6 separate regions of the Homo sapiens genome follow, and all the other regions are linked to region 6. The links are contacts of gene promoters, found by promoter capture Hi-C in blood cells and fetal thymus (Javierre and others, 2016). All regions are on one chromosome and are shown on one strand. The core of a region is centred on a gene start or on the middle of the fragment in contact, and the rest is flanking DNA. Distances in the headings are between cores, read along the strand shown.

The links. The method cuts DNA at HindIII sites, captures the fragments that hold promoters and counts their contacts. A CHiCAGO score of 5 or more calls a contact.
Region 1: a contact is called between a fragment that was not itself captured here and the fragment with the promoter of RRP15 in region 6, in 1 of 17 cell types (monocytes). The highest score is 5.9, in monocytes.
Region 2: a contact is called between a fragment that was not itself captured here and the fragment with the promoter of RRP15 in region 6, in 2 of 17 cell types (total B cells and monocytes). The highest score is 6.9, in total B cells.
Region 3: a contact is called between a fragment that was not itself captured here and the fragment with the promoter of RRP15 in region 6, in 1 of 17 cell types (monocytes). The highest score is 7.2, in monocytes.
Region 4: a contact is called between a fragment that was not itself captured here and the fragment with the promoter of RRP15 in region 6, in 1 of 17 cell types (total CD4 T cells). The highest score is 6.3, in total CD4 T cells.
Region 5: a contact is called between a fragment that was not itself captured here and the fragment with the promoter of RRP15 in region 6, in 2 of 17 cell types (naive B cells and total B cells). The highest score is 6.5, in naive B cells.

Annotation. Positions count from the first base shown.
Region 1 is chr1:219,665,008-219,667,828 of GRCh38, reverse strand. No RefSeq gene overlaps it. Among named protein-coding and RNA genes, the nearest start is that of ZC3H11B, 53 kb to the right of the region's middle. The HindIII fragment of the contact is 3,636 bases long and covers 1-2,821 here.
Region 2 is chr1:219,463,247-219,465,946 of GRCh38, reverse strand. The region is part of intron 2 of LYPLAL1-AS1 (LYPLAL1 antisense RNA 1); the gene reads left to right. Among named protein-coding and RNA genes, the nearest start is that of LYPLAL1-AS1, 93 kb to the left of the region's middle. The HindIII fragment of the contact is 1,877 bases long and covers 372-2,248 here.
Region 3 is chr1:219,587,024-219,589,744 of GRCh38, reverse strand. No RefSeq gene overlaps it. Among named protein-coding and RNA genes, the nearest start is that of ZC3H11B, 25 kb to the left of the region's middle. The HindIII fragment of the contact is 385 bases long and covers 1,158-1,542 here.
Region 4 is chr1:219,434,019-219,436,919 of GRCh38, reverse strand. LYPLAL1-AS1 (LYPLAL1 antisense RNA 1) reads left to right here. Exons shown (of 4, transcript NR_135822.1): 4 at 1,507-1,762. It also overlaps a transcript of LYPLAL1 not described here. Among named protein-coding and RNA genes, the nearest start is that of LYPLAL1-AS1, 120 kb to the left of the region's middle. The HindIII fragment of the contact is 1,458 bases long and covers 883-2,340 here.
Region 5 is chr1:219,404,344-219,407,043 of GRCh38, reverse strand. It overlaps a transcript of LYPLAL1 not described here. Among named protein-coding and RNA genes, the nearest start is that of LYPLAL1-AS1, 150 kb to the left of the region's middle. The HindIII fragment of the contact is 1,024 bases long and covers 767-1,790 here.
Region 6 is chr1:218,283,935-218,286,912 of GRCh38, reverse strand. RRP15 (ribosomal RNA processing 15 homolog) reads right to left here and starts at 1,620. Exons shown (of 5, transcript NM_016052.4): 1 at 1,458-1,620. The coding sequence starts at 1,596. RefSeq lists enhancers at 1,363-1,642, 2,173-2,242. The HindIII fragment of the contact is 12,027 bases long and covers 1-2,978 here.

The DNA of each region.
Region 1 (2,821 bases), core at 174-2,673, 1.4 Mb before region 6:
GGCACTGTGGCTCACACCTGTAATCCCAGCACTTTGGGAGGCCGAGGCAGGTGGATCACTTGAGGTTGGAGACCAGCCTAGCCAACATGGTGAAACCCTGTCTCCACCAAAAAAAAAAAAAAAAAAATTGTCTGGGTGAGGTAGTGCATGCCTGTAACCCCAGCTCAAGAGGCTGAGGTGGGAGAATCGCTTGAACCTGGGAGGCACAGGTTGCAGTGAGCCGAGATCGCACCACTGCACTCCAGCCTGGGTGACAGAAGAAGACCCTCTTTCAAAATAAATAGAGAGAGAGAGAGAAGGAAAGAAAGAAAGAAAGAAAGAAAGAAAGAAAGAAAGAAAGAAAGAAAGAAAGAAAGAAAGAAAGAAAAGAAAGAACAACAAAACAAGAAGACCAAAAGTGCCGAAGCTCACACACCAAATTAGTGCAGAGCTAGCATTCCAAGCTGGTCTCTCTGATTCCAGAGCTTCTGCGTCTAAACACTCTGTCATGAACATGAGTCTTGTCGCACCTTCCCTTTTTCCTGATGACGTGGGCTAGACACATAAAATTCAGGAATGATCTACCTGATGGTGTATTCTGAAGGAACCACAGCAAGGAGGCCCGGTGGCCTTTGGGTATGCAGGGAGCTGCAGGGACTTCTCCCTCCTGTAGCCCTGGCTGTTCGATTCTCAAGGAACTTTGTACCACTCTTGGGAACATGGGACTCTTTCAAGGAGAGCACCAGGACCAAGTTCCTTGCTAATGTTCCCAGCCGATGGGTAGTGGAAAGAGATCAGGCCTAAATGTGATTCTGAATTTGCCGGCTTTGTGATTTGGGGCATAGCACTGAACTCCTCCGAGGTTGAGTTTTCTCATCTGTGCAGTAAGGACAAGAGTAGCGGCTACCTAGTGGAGCCGTTGTCAGGACTGAAAAAGAGTAATTCATTTGCATGTGTCTTGTAGGCAGCACTATCTTTACAATGCAAAATTTGTTACTAGTGACCGCCCTTTCAAGTGAAAAACTTGATGCCATTTGGACCTGGCAAAGTGATCAATAAGTGTTTGCTGATTGATTGACACAACACCGAGGGCCCAAGAGTCCTGAGGTCCATGGCCTGTTGTCCAGACTCCAGTTGAGTGGTGGGTCCCAGGCTTCCAATGCTATGGCCCCTGCAGTGGCTTCCATTTTTGAGAAAGATAAACGAGGCCAGGCCATAGGTTCCCAAAAATCTGAGGTGTTGGCTCATCAGAGCTTGCTGTGGAGCATAACTTGTGTACTTTAGTCCTGCTCACTGGCACATTTGTATTCATTGAAAGCAATTGCCCCAAATGTAAAAGTCATAATAGTGATAGCCAAATACTCTGTCCTTTACTGACAGTCAGCCAAGCCTTGCATAATGATCACACCGGAAAATCACCATGGAGCAACAAATCTGCTGGGGGAAGAAAGGAAACACTTCCAATCATTTCTGAGTCAGCTTTCTGACTTATTGGTTTTGTTCCTTCCCACATGAAGCATTTATAGAAATGTGCTTGGCTCTGAGAAACGGGCTTCCCTGAATGGAGAGACGCATGCCTCAGTTAGGGGTGTTGAGTGGTTCAAGCAAAGTTCTAAAGTGAGAGATGAATGGTTTCGTGTTTTGTGGTTCTGAAAGTTGGGGGGTAAGACTTCTTTTTCTTTAGAAGGAGGGTTGAGTGAACCAATCAGACTGAATACAGAATGCTTCCCCTTAGCAGGTCCAAACCAAACCACTTCTAACTTAGATTGGAAAGCCAAGCTCTGTCCTCATGTCACTGTTTATGAAGCTGTTGCATTCTTTGGCAGGAGAATATGGAGGCAAATCACAAAAGGAAGCAGAAATCATATAAAATCTTACTTTCAGTAGTGAGGTGTCTACTTTTTGTTGTCGGTCCTGGAGGAGCTGACAGTGGCTGCAACCTTCATCACCATTTTCATAACGACTCTTGGAGAAAAGAAAGGGAGATATATGTTGTATCACTAAAAGTAATCAGGATGCTGATGACTCTCCTTCTCTGCACAAGCAAGGCTGCTTCTTTTTCAGTCTGATAATTTGGTCTTAGCCCCACGTGACCAAAATGCTGGACTATCCTGGCGTCGTGAGCTTATAAAGCAAACTCTCTGCAGCAAAGCAGTGCTGGGCAATGTGCGGCTGTGTCCATGTCTGTCAATGGCTTGACTTTCAATATGATATTTGTTCTGAGTATTTATTCAGAACTTCAAAGTCACCAACAGCAAATGATCCCTTATACAGTTTAGATGACACATGCTCTTGTAGGGTATGGTGTATACATTTTCTCTAAAAAAGAGAAAAATATTTCCTCAGCAAGTCTGGAAACAAGAAAATAGTTAATTTCTGGGGTCTGACAGTTTTTTTTTTAATGAGATTCCCTGAGACCCCCTGAAACTCATCTAAAAATCCCATCAGGGTCAGCATTGTGTGTGAGGTGTGTGCATCCAGAAGTGGGTACCTGTGATCCTAGCTGAGTCAAAAACTTGGAAGATGTGGGAGTTGAAGCAACAGATTAGAAATCTGATGACTATGACTATTTATGTATATACGTATGTAAATATAGCATCAGAACATCTGGATTAAAAAATAGAAAAATGTCTACATAGTTATCCATAGATATGGATATATAGATATAGATATAGATATATACTTATAAATATATAAAATGCTAAATATCTGGCTGAATAGTTTATGTGCTTTCTCAGTTTTATTTGGACTTAGACTAAGTGTGGACACAACATGTGAGTTCTGATATCAGTTATGTAAATAAGACTCTGTTTGTTCATAATTCGGGTTCTAGGTCTTTTTT
Region 2 (2,700 bases), core at 61-2,560, 1.2 Mb before region 6:
GTGCATAATAAATGTTCATAATGAAACAGGAGCTCTGCGTGAGAGCGAGGACCCAGCACTGAAGCACCTCTCAGGTCCTGTGACATCTGTATTAGAATTAAAGCTAGAAGGAACCATTTTCTTGGCATTGCAGTTTAGTCTGCCCCAGCCAAACATAGAAAGCTGTCATGTGAATATTTTTGAACCTCAAAAACAATTTTGGTTTAAGTCTGGGTGGGGGAGGAGGAGAATGGTGGCTCTTATTTCTCCCACACCAGTCCACCCATCTCATATTAGAACATGTAATTCCAACAGTGCTGACTGTCATAAAATTTGTGAACGGAGTGTCCTCTGAACACTGTTTGGTACACACATGGCCTCTTTAAGAAGCTTACTTGTAACTTATAATTAAATTAAAGAACCAGCAGCTGCTGAAAAAAAAAGTATAGCCTAGAGGCCATGTTTATGAGTTTCTCAGGCAAGAGGTAGTCATGTCAGAACTACTATTGTTATGAGTCTGAATGTTTCCAGTGAAATCTTTGCACGAATCATTTGCTTAGTACTAGTCATCCAGTCATGCCTCTTGATTTCAGCCCACTATTTCCTCTTGGAACTGGCAAAAACAACTCTACAAAGGAAAACATTTTATAAGAAAAATCATAGCCTTCTGCTTTTTAAACCATAGATGACCTGGACTCTATGACCAGTTCACAGGGGTGCTGCCTCTGGTTCCAATGGCCGGGGAAGAAAGACTACAACAAACACCAAGCCCTGAAAGCAGAAACCCTGGATTCTCTTTTCTTTGTTTCCTTAATAAAGGATTTTAATACAGTGTAGGTAGGAGATAACTGCCCTGGTTTATACAGGACTGCCCTGCTTTTAGCACTGACAGTCTCACGTCATGGGAAACCCCTCATTCTTGGTCAAATTGGGACAGTTGGTCATCCCAGCATTAGGGGCCTTTCCATGCTGTTAACCAAGCATCAAACATTCTGGGATCAGTTTATGATTTAGAAAGTTTTGAACCATAATACCCAAATCACACATCGGTGGTCAAGTCCCAGTAAATTATACTATAAAGAAGTCATAGAATCTCCAAATAGTCCTTAAATATCTTTTACTACAGAGCTTCCAATCTGGTGTTCCCAGTGGTAGATGTGAACACATTGTGCTACTAATCCAGGTGTGTCAAGGTATTGATCCCCCAGCCCTATTTTGGCTGGGCAGAATCTGGGGTACCTCGAGCCCTCAGTCACTTTTCCCTAGCCATGAGCTACCTTATCTATCTCTTTAGACCAGTGAGCACTACTAAATAATATCATTTTCCATATGTGCCATAATAAGAAAAAAATTTGGAAAGTAGTGCTCAGATCTAAGACACTCATTTTATAGGCAAAACCTAACTTCATTTCTATTAAATACAGGCTGTATGAAGCTGAGGCAAGATTGCGTTCAATTTATCTTGTGTTCAACAGTCTTCAAGGTGATTTAGATCACTGCCTGGGAAAGCTAATGTAGTACAGCATGAGTGGTAAGTGACAAAACTCAGCAAGCTAAACTTGCATTGAAGGCACGTGGCTGGCTAAACGAGGAGAAGAAAATAGACATTTATCTGAATAATATCGATAGAAATTCCCATGTTGCTTCACTTATCTATGTTTTTAGTAAACATACCATTTAAATCTCAATTACCTTTGAGTTTGAGTTAACCTGATGTTTCATTTCTACTCTTAATTTTGACTTTGGACGTATGCAGAGTTATTATTTAAAAAATCAAGATATCCAGAAAGTAAAGGCAGCTAAGTAAGAATTATAGACTTAAAATCCAGGTTTCCAAGATAAACAAGCATTTACACCTCCTCTTAATTATTCCATAAAGATTTACTCAAGTTCAAAATGGAGAAAAGATACAGAGTGAAAGGCAACATGCAAATAAAAGTCTACAGGCTTGAAGGTATTAGAGTTCTAAATTCCCATTCCCCTTGCTAGTCTTCATAGGCAGTGAGTCGAGAAGGGACAGATTCTGTGTATAAAGCTGGGCCTTTACAGATCCGAACTTTACATTGTGCCAAATTTGAAGCCTGCCCAACTTCTGGCTCTTCGATTGCTTAATACATTAGTGGACTTGTTCCAGTTCCCAGTGGTCGGAGTTCCACATCACACAGTCCCTGTCCCATCTGGTGCTAATTGGCACCCTTGTTGGTAGTTTCCAAAAGCAGAACAGGAAAAATAAAAGGGACTATCTTTCTATCCTTAGAAGTTAGAAGCTTAGTACAGGCAGTCCTCAATTTAAAATGAGCTGTGTACTAAAATATTGTATGTAAATCAGCTGTTTAGAACCCAGAACAAATTTTTCCGATGAAACAAAGTCATGTTTGATGGTTACTTCCCCAGGTCAGCCCAGTTCACTAAAGCCTGTTGGACCCATAATGTACCCAATAAATAGTTTCCATCTTAATAGCATAGAACCATCATCAGTGAACCAAGAAGTAGGAAGAGGTGGTGAAAGCATCACTGCCTTTTGTAGTAGAAGGCCAGGCTGGTTCCTCACTAGTTGAATGATTTTAGAAAATTCTCAGAACCCTTTTTAGCTCTGAGTTTCTTTAACTGAATGGAGAAGGGCAGATTATAAAAGTTGCTTTTTGTCTTCACTGGGTTATTGTTGCAAGGCTCAGATAAGATAATGCCTATGAAATATCTTAAAAAACTACTTTCACCTTC
Region 3 (2,721 bases), core at 101-2,600, 1.3 Mb before region 6:
GAGATTTTTGAAAGAGCTAGATACTGTATCTCTGGGATTAAAGTGACAAAGCATGGCCTTTAAGAGATCAGAAGTAAAAGATATTTTAGCACAGTGGATTGTCAGTCTGCATTAGCAGGTGGTGGAAGAGCTTTCGGCAGACATGCCCCTATAACTTCAGTTAGTGGCAGCACCATTGGCACAGGTACACCCCCAGGGAGCTGGCCCTGGTAACAAGGTGGCAGCAAGGGGAATTCACATTTAGAGGCAATGAAGGTAGCTGTCGCCACCATCATAAACTTCTCCTCCTACTCCTCCCTTACTCTTCCTCATCATTCTCCTTTCTCCCTCTTCTCCCCTCCTCCTCTCCCTTTTTCATCCTCCTCATCCTTCTTCATCTAGCTGTGATACTTTTTGTCCTGGATTTAGGTTGTACTGGTGAGGATAGAGACAGCAAATCAATAATAATATTTTAAATAAAGTTTTAAGCACATATACAACAAACGCTGCATTTGATACATACATTGTCTCATTTCATCATTATTTAATCTCCCTTAAGGTAGGTATAGTAACTCTGCAATGGAGTTGAGAGAAATGAGGCATAGGAGGGAGAATGACTTGCTTAAGGTCTCACAATTCATAAGTGATGGCAGGAGGATTTGAACTTCTCTTGGAGGTTCAAATTTGAACCTGGAGTCTCTTTGACTCCAGGACACTTGTTCTAAAGTCACTCAGATTCAAAAGGTAGAATCAGATGCCTTAGTGATTGGATGTGTCAGGGACAGGGGACTGTGAGGAGGAGAAGGGGTCTAAAATACTTCCTAGTTTTCTGATTTGGGTGGCCTGTTGAAATGTTAATGGTGCTTTACCCAGGGTAGGGACACTCTGACTCCTAGAAATAGTTCCAGCCTCTAATTAGTGTCGAGATCATTTTTTAGGTTAAAAATGAGCTTTGGGCTAGAGTTACAGGAATTCTTATTTCAATCTTTCACTTGGTTTTGCCTATAATAGACTGGCTAAACTGTAAGAGGCCTCCTCTTAATTTTAAACTGTCTTGAACTCAAAATAGGCAAAGTATTAAGCTAATGAAAGAGCAGTGTTCTTGTTACCTTTATGTTCATGCCCCCAGAGTCTTTTTCCCAATGGGCACCAGGTATCATGTTATGGCCGTGAAAGCTTTCAGGCAGTGGTTACAGAAAGTCTTGAAAAGTAGAAAAGTCAAGCATGCTGGAGGAGCCCTGGCCTATTAAAGAGAGAGAGAGGTCTGGTTCTGATTACTGATAATTATAGATAAGCTGGAGCCGACAGCCATTTTCTGACCACAAACTCAAATCAATCAATTAAAAACTGCATGTAGCTGCACCACGGCTAATCAGTCCCAGGCACTTCAGGATGATCCATTAAGTCCTACCTCTACCGTGTCATGGTTGCTGTGTTCCATCTGCTACTCTGACAGTGGATCAAATGCACACCTCATTTTATACTTCTGGCTAATCAAGAATGCTGTTCACAGTGTTAGTCTTCCTTCTACTTCCTGAAATTGCCAGCCTTGTACAAGAAGCTTGATGATTGAGTCATTATTTCCCTTTCTGGACCCAGACATGCAATACTAAGAAAAATAATTACTAGCAAGAAGAAGCAATCATCTTTGAAATATTTTGCTCATTCTGTTGCTCTCCCAGGAAAACAGATGGTGGGGGCTTCTGGAGGTGGGTGGTTGCAACACTGAGATACAGAAGCTATTCTGTAGAAGCAGCAGTTGAATGTGTGTTGGCTAAGTAGTCTCCGAAAGATATTTGGGGAAATGTGATCTACTTTCAAACTGAGATATGTGGAAGAGGGATAGTGACTTTTGGTTCCTCCATATGTGTGGATTCTCAAGGAAGCAGATTTCGACACAATCTAATGAAGAAATCTTTTCTTCTGAGGCTGCAAACTGGTAGCTCATGAGCTAAAGCCTGCTAACAGATGTGGCTTGTTGGTCTCACAGAGTGTTTAAAACAAATTTTGAATTAGTTACTAACATTTAAAAGGCAAGAAATTGAACATTTTTTATTTCTGACTTTATTTATTTATTTATTTATTTTGAAAAACTGGAAGATCCAGTGAAACTGAGCTCAGACTTCCTCCAGCCTGCAGGCTGTTTCCTTTGGACAGCACATGTGCTTTCCAGCTCACCACATTCCCTCCAACTTTCTTTGGAGGACCTGCATCAGCCTCCTTCACTCATTTATGTTACTTTCTGGCTCTTCTAGCTTTTCTGAGTTTGTAGCTCTTACTAAATACTGAAGCACCTTATGTAGTTAGTGATGAGCTTTTCAAGTGTTTAGACAGGCTGGAAGAACATTTGCTGGACAAAGAGTGGACAGTATATCCTTGGACTCCAGAAACTCGGCCCCTTCTGAACTCCAATCTTTAGAGGACCCTTCTTGGACTTTCCTCCAGCTGTGCCCCACCCTTGGGAAGAGTAGGCCATGGGGTCAAAGGGACAAGTCCTTTCAGAATCTATTCACTTTTGACATTCACTGCTCACTCCAGACACTTATCTTTCAGATTCTCCCCATGTTTGTCTTGCTGAAGATGGACTGTGCTGCTGGTGTATACGTACCCCTAAGTGTGATGAGTGGGCAAGAGGAGACAGTTAGGTAGGCAAGATATATTTGGTGCTTAGATATGTGGGTTGTTGAGTCCATAGACATGCATGGGAGACCCTTTGTGATACAGGACAGAATTCAGGGCAGG
Region 4 (2,901 bases), core at 362-2,861, 1.2 Mb before region 6:
TATTTTTTTGAAACACTGAAGCAAAGAACCTGGAAAAATTGTTATTTAGAAGTTGCAAGATGTTGTTTTGACTCCCTAGAAGTTCTTTCATTTTTCAGAGCCAGCTGTTCTCTTATGGAGGAGAGCCACCAGAATGTGATCTTTACTAATACAAATGCAGAACAAGTATTAACTCAACGCTCTTCATAATAATAAAATTCACTGCCCACTTGAGTGCACATGTTTATTATGAAATGGTAACACACTTAGCCTTGTGGATGAGGAACCCCAAATCTGAGCCCTGTGACTTAAGGGTCCAGACTTAAGGGTCTGCTCTGGCTATGCCTCTTCCCATGGGGCAAGGAATCTCTAGGCCAAATTAGAGCACACACTCCTTCCCCCTTCAAGACTAAGCTCCGGGCAGGCAGATTTATCTTTTAGGTACAATAGGTGGAGTGCCAAGGGCCCCTATTACTGTTAGGGGCCACAAAAATGTTCAAATTTCTTTTAAAATCAGAAAAAAAAGAATGAACTTTTAGGTTGAAAACATATCTGACATCATATTAATATATTTATTTCTATACCAACACAGTCGTAAGACATAACTTGTGATTTATTTTATGGAAAAGGGGGCCCACAAATACAAAGGCACCTAGAGTTCTTTAAAGACATAAAGTGGCTATCCCTCTAGGAGGCTAGAACCCCAGACTTTTATGTCCAAGTGGCCAAAGCCTACTTCCAGGGCCTGCGAGGGCCTCTTGCCCAGGTGTCTTCTTTTAAGAGCAGGCAGCACACAGGTATGAGCACCCCAAAGCACACCAGTGACTATGGCTGATCTTGTACAGTCTGTGACTGGAGTGTGGGTGTACGGGCTAGTGTGTTCCTGTGTCTATGTGTGAAGCTTCTTGTAATAGGAGATGGCACTGGGGCAGAATGAAAAGGAGTATAGACAAGGATTGGGGCTAGTTCTCTTCAAAATTTTGCATTCTGGTGCAGACTGTGTAGACAGCATTACTTGAACAAACTGTATGAGAACAGACATTGCAAATGCTTTAAATGAATGTGGGATGTGTCACTGATCTTTCACTATTATTATTATTATTATTATCATTTTTGGGACGGAATCTCACTATGTCACCCAGGCTGGAGTGTAATGGTGTGGTCTCGGCTCACTGCAACCTCCACCTCCCGGGTTCAAGTGATTCTCCTGCCTCAGCCTCCCGAGTAGCTGGGACTACAGGCATGCACCACCACACCCAGCTTATTTTTTGTATTTTTAGTACAGACGGGGTTTCACTATGTTGGCCAGGCTGGTCTCAAACTCCTGACCTCGTGATCCGCCTGCCTCGGCCTCCCAAAGTACTGGGATTGATTACAGGCATGAGCCACCGCACCCAGCCTGATCTTTCACTATTATTAACATTAGGAAGATAACATTGTACACTAAGCCCATCAAAGAGATGCAAGTTAAGTGCAGGCTAATAACAACTTTCTGTAAATAATTTAATTTTGAATTTTATCTAACAGGTGCTGTTAATTTTCTTGTGGAGAAGGAACTGTCTTTAGAAAAATATCTCAAAAAGCCACTGAAGTAGAAAGTTTCAGCATGCTGAAGATGGAACTTGAGAAGATAGAAAGTTCTGGGTCCTTAGTGGCATGACTGAGTCGCTGGACCACTGTTGGAACCACCCTATGTCTTAGTTTTTAAATCTCTTTACTGTCTAAGACATTTTTAGTGGAAGTATTTATCTCTGGCATCCAATAAGACCTTTAAGGATTTGCAGTTTTATCTATGTGTTTGTTTATTGTCTGCTCCACCCTACTTGATTGTGATCACCATGACATCAATGACTGTGCATCTTTTGTTCACTCAGGAATATCCAGTGCCTGCCACGCAGAGTGTGCTGCATGTACATGCTCACTTGATATCTGTTGTAGCAAAGAGTGAAAGAGAGAAGGAATAAATGCTTTCTCCCATGATGAGGGGACATGGGGTCCAGACAAGCTGGACCATTATCCCAGGCCCAGCGCTCTGCTTTATTTTTTTTTTTCCAGTACAGCATCACATTCAGTTACAACAGAGTGAAATCTCCTAAGAACACGGCTGATTATTTCTTGATTGCAAAAAGGACTCACTAACCCTCCGATCTCCTGTAACGCAAGTCAATGCTCTTCTAATCTCCTTTTAGACAGCACCTGTACTTGTCAGTCAACGCATGGTAGTCTGGGCTAGCCAAGTGAATCCTTAACTAAACTGAAGTGGTGCTGATCATTCAGCCTTCAGAATTGAAAAAATCACAGCATTGCTGAAGGAAAAGGCATTTTTCAGGTAGAGAGGCATAAGTCTTGGGCCAGGAAGCTTCAGTAAGAAGACAATAATTTCATAGAAATGCATTAGCTTGGGGAGTCCAACTGCTGTTCTTGCACCTAAGAAATTCAGAGGAGAGCTCTTTGCTTCCTTGCTCATTCCAGTGGTTAGGAGTCAGGCCTTGTCCCAGAATGTTCAGGTTGATGCTTACCATTTAAGCCTTAAGTTAATCCGTTGAAGCTCCAGGCCTTTTATGGGATTCACAAGAATAAACAGCATTTAACTATAGATTCTCAAAGGTCAAATCTTCAACCTAAATCTGAGGATTCAAAGCATTGTTCACTCTAATAATTCTGCTAGTTCCCAACTTCACACAAACCATTTATTTCAGAATGTAAACCTTGAATAATCTTTTCTTACTTGTAGTTTTGTGGTCATTTAGAAAACAGCAATACTCTATTTTAATTGGAACTAAGTGACAAAAATAAGCCACTTCATTAGTTTTCTAGATAACGGTAAAATGTAAGAACAAAAAGCCACTTCTTTTTCCACGTGGTATTTTACAGTGACTTTTTTTTTTCTTTTTACTGCATTTTAAAATTCTACTGGAGGCA
Region 5 (2,700 bases), core at 29-2,528, 1.1 Mb before region 6:
ATGTGAAACAACATCATTAAGGAAAGATCAAAACAATTGCAGAGATGTCAACCATCATGCCTTTGAATTCATGCTCACAGTTGTCTGCCTCCAGATTCAGTTATATTTGAGGTACTCTTTGAGTTAAGATCCTTCTCATTTTATACCACTTGCAGCTGAACACACTCCCCACTAATTTACCTTGTAAGGTGAATTTCACTTAAAGGAAGAACACATAAGTCAGGGAATGACACATAATAGTAAATGCAGGGTTTTTTTTTCTATTTATGATATAGATTTATACAACTGCTATGTTCTTGACATTGTACCAATTTCAAGGTACAAATAAGACATAATCCCTAAAAGCATGGGTTACAAAATCTGGGTTCAGCATAGGGTTTCATGATAAACAAACAAACACAAATTGTTTTTTATTGTATTTCCTTCTTCTTCACATCTTGTGAATCTAAGAAAAATATCAGAATGTTCGTTTCAGCTCAATTTTTGAAGAGTACAATCTCTAAGTAAAAAGAAACTGTAAATGTTTATAAATGTAACTAGAGCCTAGTAGAAAATAAAGCCATGCAAGTGTGTTTAGGTCCTAATCTTATTAACCAGATTAGTGACACACAGTCTGCCCAAAGTTAATGAAAGCAGTGAGGTTCTTTGACTTCAGTAGATACACACCTGAACCACAGAGATAAACTTGCTTCAAACCTGTGCGATATGTTTTTCTAAGCATAAAATTGAGCATGATAGCTCCAATTTCAGTCTCAGTTTCAAAGCTTCCCTTTCCCGAATAAGAGGCAAACTGTCACATTAAATTTAGCGAATTAAAATCAGTTAACTTGAAAAGCTCTTGGCCCCAATGCAGAGAAAATTGTTTGCATAATAATAACTTATTTCCTTTTTTAAAAGGCGGACTTCTGCCTGAATGCTTCTATAAACTTTTAAGAAAATGGGATTCTCAAATCTCAAGCGTATTGGGTTGCAGTTGGCACTTGAAGCTGGGGACATGCAGAGCTGGCTAATGTCAGCAGCTGTAGGACTGTCAAGAAAAATAGGTGGAAGGGACACTTTTATTATAAGTAGACTTGCAAGGCATTCCAACTTTCAGCTGCTCAACCCAGTATACCAAACACCTCTGACTACCTCAAGTGTGGCCTTGCTGAGTGCTTCCATATTTAGGGGTTATTAGACAGGACTGAAGCAAGTGACCTCTAATGAGGAAGCAATCAGGGCAGGCTCTGACCCTCCTCAGAGGTACTGTAATGAACTGGCCTTGGAAGGTCTTTGATGCTGCCTTTGCATACTGTATATGAGCTTTCTGCTCAGTCATTTCCTCTGCGCTCTGGTAGCACAGCATGAAGCCTGCTATTAGAAAAAAGGTTTATTGCTACCTTGCAAACATTTATTGGGTAATATCTAAAACATGGTGTCAAGTTATAGTAATGCGCTGTTCTGGGAAACTTTTTGAGAATTTTAGTGTTTCAGAAGATGGTCCTTTGAGAATTCTTCTGTTTCAGAAATGAAAAGTGGTAGATATATACGTGTGTGTGTATAATATGCTCATGTATCCTCTGATTACTTGCCAGAGATGTACCATTTTTCTTTCAAGGGAAACATCTATTCCTAAGATAGATTATTCTTGAAATTTTCAAAGAGTATGCCTCAGAGAACAAATATACAAATTTACCATTTGTCTGCAGATATTATTTGCCTGTGTTTATGCTAGGTCACTGACACCACACACATTTTAATCCCCAAGGGAATTTATTTGGTGGTGTTATCTACTCAACCAAGCTGAAGCTTATCTAGTTCACAAGAAAATAGTCAATATGAGCTCCATGCAGACTTATGCTGTTAATGCAGAAGAGGGAAAGAGAATTTACCTTTAACTGTTATGATGAAAATGTGTACAATGACACTTAACTATGGCATGCAAATCCTCTTTTCCTCCCCCACAGGTATCTGGAAAGTACCTTATACAGCTAGGTGCTTAGAAAATGTTTATTGATTAAATAGATGATGATTAACAGATTAATAAAAGGTGAAAGTTACTATCTATGCATTTTTTTCCAGTTTGATGTTCAAAAACTTACCAATGGATGGGGAGTTGCTTTTCATAAACAATTTATAAAGCACTGTCCTGGATGAAATTGTAAAAAGGACGTGGTGTCAAAGATGACTCAGTGGAGTTGAGGTGAAAAATGTGTAATGAGCAAATCATGGTAATTGGGATATCCATCACCTCAAACCCTTATCATGTCTTTGTGTTGAGGACATTTCAAATCTTCCCTTCCAGCTATTTTGAAATATACAACAAATTATTGTTAAGTGTAGCCACCCTAGTGTGCTACTGTACACTAGGACTTACTTATTCCTTCTATCTAACTGTATTTTTGAACCCATGAACCAACATCTCTTTGATTTCCAGCCTGGGCTTTGGTGTCCCTTTTTTTGTGTGTTTTCATAGGGCCCTATATTTATATTATTTGGGCTCAACACATTGCAAAACTGCAGAGGAGTTTACTATTATGCACATTATTATTCTATATTCTGTCACTCTAAGAAACAATAAGTGACCATCTGAAGAGACCATCTTCTAGCACCAAAATATTTAAAGATGATTAAGAATAAGACAAGGGTCTCCTTATTTACAAAATGACATAATTGAAAGGACTAGATTATTAGCAACCCCTCTGGAAAAGGATTACTCTT
Region 6 (2,978 bases), core at 371-2,870:
AAATATAGTACTCTTCCCTTCTTGAACAATAGTGTTTGAACTAGTCTAATGAATTTAAAAAATATCAGAACCAGAAGTTCTAATTTTGGCCCAACAAATAGTTTGTTTTCCTTAACAATGTGGCAGGAGATGAAGACTCTAATTACCTAGGAATTGCAGTAGCATATGACACTTTCTTCTTGGTCCTGGAAGTCCAGGTTAATTCATTCATTTACTTAAATATCTGTGAAGGACCCACAAGGCAATAGGAACTGGGGATACAGTAGGCTCTATTTTTATGGAACTTATATTCCAATTGGGAAAGCAGCAAATACATACATCAAATGGTTTGGGCAGGGTTGAGAAAAAATAAAGCAGGGCAATAAGTCAAAAAGTGAAGAAAAGAAGGCAGGAAGAAGAGTAGTGGTGGTACGTTACATAGGGTAGTCAGGGACAAGTCTCTCTGGTAAGGCACTGGATCAGAGGCTGGTGAGGGAGAGACATGCCAAGCATTTGAAAACTATTCTAGGCAGCGGAGCCAACAAATGAAGAAACCATGGTGTGGGAGCATGTTTAAGGTGTTAAACACAAGCATACCGGTATGGCATGATTACAGTTAGTGGTTTGTGAGGGGCATATTGGCCTATGACAGACAACCTGGCCCAAATCATACAGCCTAAGGATTTTGGATATTATATACTGAGATGAGAAGCCACTGGATCATCTCAAACAGACAGCGGGCATAATTAGAAATACGTTATAAAAGAATAGCTCTGTCTGTTTTTTGGGTATCAGCTGGTACAAAGGAGCAATAACTGGGCAGTAGGAAGTCAGGGATTACCTGCAATTCCTTGTAACCTAATAAGCTGGTGCCAAGAATGATGGTAAAGAGGAGCAACAGACACAGCATGGTTGAAAGCCTCAAAAACACATCCTTCCTTCCTTTTATTATCAAGCGTCTCTGAGAGACATAGTTATCAAACACTACCAGTTTTTAATCGACCTTAACCACCAAACTCTTCTTTCATTCACTATTATTTAGTCTCTAAAACACGCACACATCTACCGCACAAAAAGTCAAGTACACCCCCTTCTTCCTCTTACCTCTTTTAACCTTTTGCTTCTTACACCCTATGAGACCCATTCTTCTCCTGTTTTCAAGTACCCTCTTCCTTTCACCCTTTGCTACTGTAAGTTTCTCGGTAGCTGCAGGTGTTTCACCCATTTTATTATAATTAATAATGGTGACCCTGAAAATACCTAGTAAAAGAATGTGGAAACTCAAAATTACAGTTGACAGCGTTACTTCTCTGAACACGACTTCCCCAAGCCTCCTCACTAAGCCAAAGTCGCCCCTCTGAAGTGGTGCCAAGATAAAACCCAGGTGGCTAGCAGCAAATGAAGTCGCAAGCGCTGCTTGACACGAACTCAGCCCCGCCTTTCCTCCCAGACACCAAAGCTCAGCCCTACCACATTACCTTCACTATCAGAAGTGTCTGTGGCCTCGTCTTCCAGCACCGACGCTACGGCTCCAGTTACCATTTTCATCTTCTTCTTTGGGGTCTTTTTCAGGTTTTCTTCCTCACTCACACGTGAGTCCGGAGCGGCGGCTGCCATTTTTCTGCGCCGGAAGCGTCACCTGACAGTTGCGTCCGGTGGCAACCAGAGGAACTTCTGCATTTAGTGCCGGTAACACAAGGTTCCGGGGCGGGGTCGTCTAGCCCAGAGTTCCGGGGCCGGAGCCTCAGAATGTGACTTGGAGAGAGCTCTGAATGGCTCGGTGTGTTTACGCGAAGTCCGTTCCAGGACGAAAATCAGCGGCTGAATGGCCTCAGCCGACTCCTCCGCTAGCTCGCCTGTGCCCTGGTCCTCCGCCCCAGTGCGTCCCCAGCCCGTCCCCAGCCCAGCGCGGTCCACTTTGATTTCCTAGCCTCGGCGGCTTCCCTTGTCTGCTGCCTTAATGTTGGTTTAGTGTCCTCCTCAGGTGTCTCTTACGTGCCCACTGAACGCCGCAGCAGCTAGGACGCGGGACAGATCCACTGGGGGCCGATAATTAGAATACGATCGTATCATCCCCCCGCCCAAGATAACACGCGAGACCTTTCTTGCAAACCGAATAGACTCACCTTCTTTCCCTGGGGCGGGTGTTGAATCCAACCGCACCCTTCTCCCTCGGACCCGGCTGGGGCCTGGAGGGTTTCTGGCGCCCGACTGCGCAGTGCAGACCGAGGGTGCGAATACCTTGCTATCCGCGCGAGGATCCTGCCTCCCACCCGGGGCTAGCTTTTCTCTGAAGTTAGCCTCTGTCACCAGCTCCTAGTTCCATCGAAGCACCTACCACAGTCGGCCTTCATTTTCCCCCCTAAAATGTTGGCTTCTCGCAGGAGGGGAACGTATTTCATTTACCATGTCCCCTCAAGGTTAGCAACAGAAGTTGGCCTGAAGTGAATTTTCCAAAAATATTTTTGGAAGGGATGAATGAATCAATGAATGAGTGACAGAATATAACTATTGACAAAGTTAATGACTCAGATGGATAATGCAGCAAACCTTTACTGGCTAGACTTGTTCTAAAGGCTTTCCCCAAACTTAGCGTTTTCCCTTTCCCCTCTTAAGGAGGTTCATAGATTGTGATACCCATAAGTCAAAAACAAAAACAAGAATCCTCATTTTGACATATTCCAGTAGATGTTTATGTAGGAAATAAATATATATTCACATCCTAAAAACTCAATACAACATTTTTAAACTTGGTTTTTAATTTTTTTGTCTTTTAAGAGAGAGAGGGTCTAGCCGGGTGCGGTGGCTCACACCTGTAATCCCAGCACTTTGGGAGGCTGAGATAAGTGGATCGCTTGAGTCCAGGAGTTTGAGAACAGCCTGGCCAACATGGTGAAACCCCATCTCTACTAAAAATACACAAATTAGCCAAACGCAGTGACGAGTGCCTGTAGTCCCAGTTACTCGGGAGGCTGAAGCAGGAGAATCGCTTGAACCTT